Linked DNA regions of Homo sapiens: region 1 is linked to region 2. The links are contacts of gene promoters, found by promoter capture Hi-C in human tissues and cell types (Jung and others, 2019). All regions are on one chromosome and are shown on one strand. Each heading gives the region's core, a stretch centred on a gene start or on the middle of the fragment in contact. The rest is flanking DNA. Distances are from core to core; before and after follow the strand shown. Region 1 overlaps FAM216A (family with sequence similarity 216 member A). Region 2 holds the start of PPP1CC (protein phosphatase 1 catalytic subunit gamma).

The links. Contacts are between HindIII fragments. The study calls those that stand out against the background at their distance.
Region 1: a contact is called between a fragment that was not itself captured here and the fragment with the promoter of PPP1CC in region 2, in 1 of the 25 tissues and cell types used here (small bowel).

What each region holds. Positions count from the first base shown.
Region 1 is chr12:110,484,856-110,487,555 of GRCh38, forward strand. FAM216A (family with sequence similarity 216 member A) reads left to right here. Exons shown (of 7, transcript NM_013300.3): 3 at 223-344; 4 at 1,470-1,599; 5 at 1,679-1,862. All of the region lies in intron 1 of LOC124903016 (a long non-coding RNA gene), which reads right to left. Among named protein-coding and RNA genes, the nearest start is that of VPS29, 16 kb to the right of the region's middle. The HindIII fragment of the contact is 3,710 bases long and covers 1-2,700 here.
Region 2 is chr12:110,741,496-110,744,195 of GRCh38, forward strand. PPP1CC (protein phosphatase 1 catalytic subunit gamma) reads right to left here and starts at 1,396. Exons shown (of 7, transcript NM_002710.4): 1 at 1,158-1,396. The coding sequence starts at 1,212. RefSeq lists enhancers at 1,121-1,629, 2,391-2,700 and silencers at 1,267-1,326, 1,487-1,626. The HindIII fragment of the contact is 6,938 bases long and covers 1-2,700 here.

The DNA.
Region 1 (2,700 bases), core at 175-2,674, 260 kb before region 2:
CATTCTCCTAAATTTTTTGTATTTTTAGTAGAGACAGGGTTTCACCGTGTTAGCCAGGATGGTCTCGATCTCCTGACCTCGTGATCCACCCACCTCGGCCTCCCAAAGTGCTGGGATTACAGGCGTGAGCCACCACACCCGGCCTAAATATCTAGATCTTAATAATTCAGTTTGTTGAACTGATCTTTGCCTCTGAAATTCACATGATGTCTTTGCCTACAGATAGAATCAAAGATGGATACAAAGTGAACTCACACATAGCTAAGCTGCAAGAGTTATGGAAAACTCCCCAAAATCAAACAATCCACCTCTCTAAATCAATGATGGAGGCGTCCTTTTTCAAGGTATGCTAACAGGGACATATTTAAATACCAATACTCTTTGTATTCAGAGCCGAACTTTTTACTGAAGATCAGCTGCTTAGAGGGTGAGATACTGCAGATGACAAGGCATATGCAGTATAATTGTCTAGGAGTCAATAAATATCTTTGAGTAAACTCATGAATGAATGTAAAGATTATACATTCTTTATCATAAGAGTTATTTCATGGTTTTATGATACTTCATATCTAATGTATCTTTACTGAGGGGAAGCTTAATGCCCCAACCACAGAGATGCTCAAGAAAAGTTCCATCTTTTCTTGAAAATAGAAACCCAACTTCACACATATTTTACTCAAGGACTACAAAATTAAGAAGAAAGCAGGTAAAGAAAATGGCAGTAATTAGCTTGCAAGTAGGATTTAAAAAAAGAAAAATAAATAAAAGAAAATGGCAATAAGGATTTTACAATGGTTACCTGTATCCCATTAACGATCGTAACTGCTAAAAGTATCTCTAGAGCAATGTGAATTAGGGTAAATTTTTCTAACATTTTGCATTTTCTTTGAACTTACCATGTATTCAGTAAAGTAAATCTTGTATATATAGTGGAATCATACATCTTAAGTGAACATTAACTTCTAAATCAGCAAGTGCAATGAAAATCTCAAGTCAAAATTACTTAGAGACTAACATACTATCCCTCAGAATGTCCAACACAGTCAGTTATTCTTCTGGTGCTGGAAAAGAATGTTTCTTCAGTTGAGACTAAGTAGAGTAATTGGATTGATTTTAGGTACCATGTTATACCTCAAAAATCATTTTGAGAAGGCAAGATGCCCACACTGAGAGGCGCACAGCAAGTAACACTTGACAGAACAGCAGATTCGCTCTTTCCTTGTTCATCTAGAGCAATGGGTTCTCCGACTTCAAAGGGCATCTGAATCACCCGAGTGGAATGGCAAGCAGAGCCACTTGCACTGTTTAATTGGCCATTTCTTTCTCTTTTGTCAAGTTAACGTAGTTGAATTTGCTAAAGTAAAATACAGTTGGCACAACTCTCTTGAACATTCATCTCTTCAGATAAGGAATATTGCCAACTTCTCTAATACAATGCAGACTATAAATCCTCTTATTCTGTCTTTTAGCATCCAGACCTCACCACAGGCCAGAAGCGTTACCTGTGCAGCATTGCTAAAATCTATAATGCAAACTATCTGAAGATGTTAATGAAGAGGCAGTACATGCACGTACTTCAGCACAGCTCACAAAAGCCAGGCAGGTGCACCTCCAGTTGTCTTTTCACTAGTTTTTACAATTAGTGAGAGGGTCTTTTAACAGGTGATTTGTATCACAGGTGTCCTCACTCATCACAGAAGCCGCCTTAGCTCCCGTTACTCACAGAAACAGCATTACCCTTGCACTACATGGCGACATCAACTGGAGAGAGAGGACTCGGGGTCTTCTGATATCGCAGCTGCATCTGCACCTGAAATGCTCATACAGCATTCCCTTTGGCGGCCAGTGAGAAACAAAGAAGGGTCTGTTTCTTAGTGTAAAAGGGGGGAAATGCATCTCAGTTTAATTTTTTTTTTTCTCAGACAGGGTTTTGTTCTCTCACCCAGGCTGGAGTGTAGTGGTGTGATACAGTTTACTGTATTCTCAAACTCCTGGGCTCAAGCAATGCTCCTGCCTCAGACTCCCAAGTAGCTAGGGCTAAAGGCACAAACCACCATGCCCTGCTAGTTAAAAAAAATTGTTTGTACAGAAAGCATCTCACTATGTTGGCCAAGGTACTCTCACCTCCGCCTCCCAAAGCACTGGGATTACAGGCGTGAGCTACTGTGCCCAGCCTTCCCCATCTCTTTTGAAGGGTAGCTAAGTGATATTAATGGTTGTGTTCCCTAATATATTCACTTTGCTAAATTCAGAATAGGCTGGACTTTTAAAAAGCAGAGATACTTTTTTTTTTTTTGAGACCGAGTTTCGCTCTTGTTGCCCAGGCTAAAGTGCACTGGCGCGATCTCGGCTCACCGCAACCTCCACTTCCCGGGTTCAAGCGATTCTCCTGCCTCAGCCTTCCTGAGTAGCTGAGATTACGGGCATGCGCCACCATGCCCGGCTAATTTTGTATTTTTAATAGAGACGGGGTTTCTCCATGTTGGTCAGGCTGGTCTTGAACCCCCAACCTCAGATGATCTGCCCGCCTTGGCCTCCCAAAGTGCTGGGATTACAGGCATGAGCCACCATGCCTAGCCGAGAGATATTTTCATACTTTTTCTTTACTGCACTGATAAGAATATGCCACTTCTTTTAGAATATATTTTGTGGAATTATAAAAATTTCTTTATCAGATAGAGTTATGGATGACTGCCCTTT
Region 2 (2,700 bases), core at 146-2,645:
CATGCCCTTGAATCTGAAAGCAGCTCATTTCAGCTTCCGTCTTTAAAAGCTGAACCTCGCCCCTCTCCCACATCAACATGAATCAATTGCCAGGCACCTCACAAGTCTTAGATGAGCCGAAATTTAAAGCTTTCTATTAACCTTTACTTAACCACTGGCCACCTTCCTTCCTACATAAGGTGACAGTGTTGTCTGTAGAGGGTTCTAGCTCCCGGCTATGTGGATTTGAAATCCAACTGTCACTAACTGTGTGACCTTGGTTAAGTGACTTCATCTCAGTTTCTTCTGTAAAATAACAAAAACAAAAAAAATTGCAAATATCTTGCAATGGGTGGGAGAATTAAATGAAATCTGTCTTAAGTGCTCAAAGAATGCCTGACACACAGTAAGCGCTTTAGAAGCGTCAGTTATGATTACAGTAATAATTCATGGACGCAAAGTGCTTAAGACAGAGCCTGGCACATTGGAAAGATAATGATAGCGTCAGCCTCGTTGGCTTCCTCTTCAGATGCACGCTCAGGAAAAGAGCGCGGAGACCTCTCCAAGATTAGAACAACTTAAAAGGATTTGGAGGGCAGGCGAAGACAGGTTCTCACACCTCTTGAGACATGAACGCTTGTTACCAAGTAACAAGAAATGGGCCCCCCAAGACCCCAGAACCACGAAAAATAAAAATAAAAGCAAGCAGGAAAAGAGCCCCCAAACCCGGCGGAACTCATGCCCTCATCAAACTGCCTTCCGAGAGGACGAGCACCGAAAAGTCCATCTCGCACAGCACGGCACACGTCGTCCAGGAGGCTGGACTGGGATCCCCAACCATCGCTCCAAAGACCCGTCCAGTGCGCGGGGGCAAACGGGTAGGGGCGGGAAACGTGGGGGTGGGGAGCGGAGTTTTCAAATTCCACGGCCGGGAGGAAGCCTGCATCCTCGTGCAATGAATGAGCGGAGCCTGGAGGGTCCGCAGCTGGCGACAAGTTGGGAATCCCGGGCTGGCCTCCCTCCGGCTGCAGTCCCCGGCCCGTGGGCCAACTCGAGGAGCTCACTCCCCACGGTGCTGCAAGCCCAACCGGCCTCCCAACTCCCCTCCCTCGAGCCCCCGGGGCCGCCTGCCGCCCTCAGGCCCGCCTCCCCCTTCAGCCGCCCGCCGCCCCCCTTACCTTCCAGCAGCCGTTGGATAATGCTGTCGATGTTGAGTTTATCTAAATCCGCCATCGCCTTCCCACCGCCGACCCTCCCGCAGCGGCGCCGCCGCCGGCTCGCGCCCGGGACTCACACCTCCTTTCCCACGCCACGAGCAGAGGCGGTGGTGGCGGCGGTGGCAGCAGCCGCGGCGGGTCCCCCCCCTGCCACCCCGCTCCCTACTTCCTCCTTCTCTCCCCACTGGAACCACGAGAAGAACAAAATGGCCGCCGACTCCTTAGACAGCCTCGGGCGGCGCACGGATGCGCGCGGGGAGTGCAGCGGCCCGGCCGGGACTTCTTTATGGGCCATAGGGGGCGCGGGAGGGGGCGGGGCCCGGGCGCTGGAGGGGGCGGGGCCCGGGCGCTGGGCGGGGCGCAGATGGCTGAGCGCAACCGCGTCCCCGCATGGGATCCTTCCGCCAAACGGGCCGAGTAAATAGGCCCGCCCCCAATGCCGGGCCCGAGCGAGAGTTGCAAAGTTGCACGCGGGAGTTGGGGCTGGGGGAGGAAATGCAGCTGTGCACACCGCCGGTTGCGGCCATCGCCGGATCTTGTGCATTGAGTCTAGATGTTTGCAGACCTGGACAGGTGGGAGCTCACCGAGGGATTTCGGGGGTCCTGGAACTTACCCTTTAAGATAAATCTGGGGTGAGGATGGAAAAGAATAATAAAGAAAAGAAGGTTGACTTATTTTGGATTCAGATATACTGGAACTTGGGACAAGAGAAAGGTTTATTTGGTAACTAAAAAGAAAAAACCCTCTTTCAGATAAGTCAAAATGTAACAGTTAACTCATTGTGAGTGGTGGGTATATGGGTATTTGTATATATATTTTTTGTGCACTTCTGTAACTTTAGGGGTAAAAAATCCATACTCAAAGAAAATTTTATCATTTCTGTCCCTTGGATTTATCTTCCCTGAACTCGGAAAGTTATGTAATCATCGGGACGGTTATCCCGATTCTAGCCAGGGCAAAGTTGAACGAGCGCGTGCAGCAGTTAAAAGGGGAATTTGCAGATTTCACGCGTGCAGGCCGGGGGCGGGAAGAGAAGATGCAAGCTGCGCGGGCGGTCCTGGGTTCTGCAGACACCCGAAGAAACTTTGGCCCATTCCTCTCTGGCTTCCCAGCCTCCCCGAGGGCACTCCTATCCAAGGGGCCCCCAAACTGTGCCACCTCCAGGGGCTGCGCGTCGACTTTGGCTGGGTTTGGAAGTACAGCCCACACTCAGCAAACAGATCGGCTCTCTTTCCTGACCTTTCCATGTACGTTGCTTCCTGCAGCGCTTTACATTTTGCAAAGCCCCCTCTCTCCGAGAAATTCATTTTGTTTCCCAAGGCGTGCAGGATGCACGAATCCCCATCTCAGTATGCCACGAGGTAATTGCACCACCCAGGCATCCTCTTCCAAAGCAATGTCCTCAGGGTGCGGGCTCCATGTCCCCTTACTTGGGCCCCCTCGCTACTGGTGCAGGGCCCTTGAGTTTCAGAACTCAGCCTATCGATCCACTTTCCTCAGGCA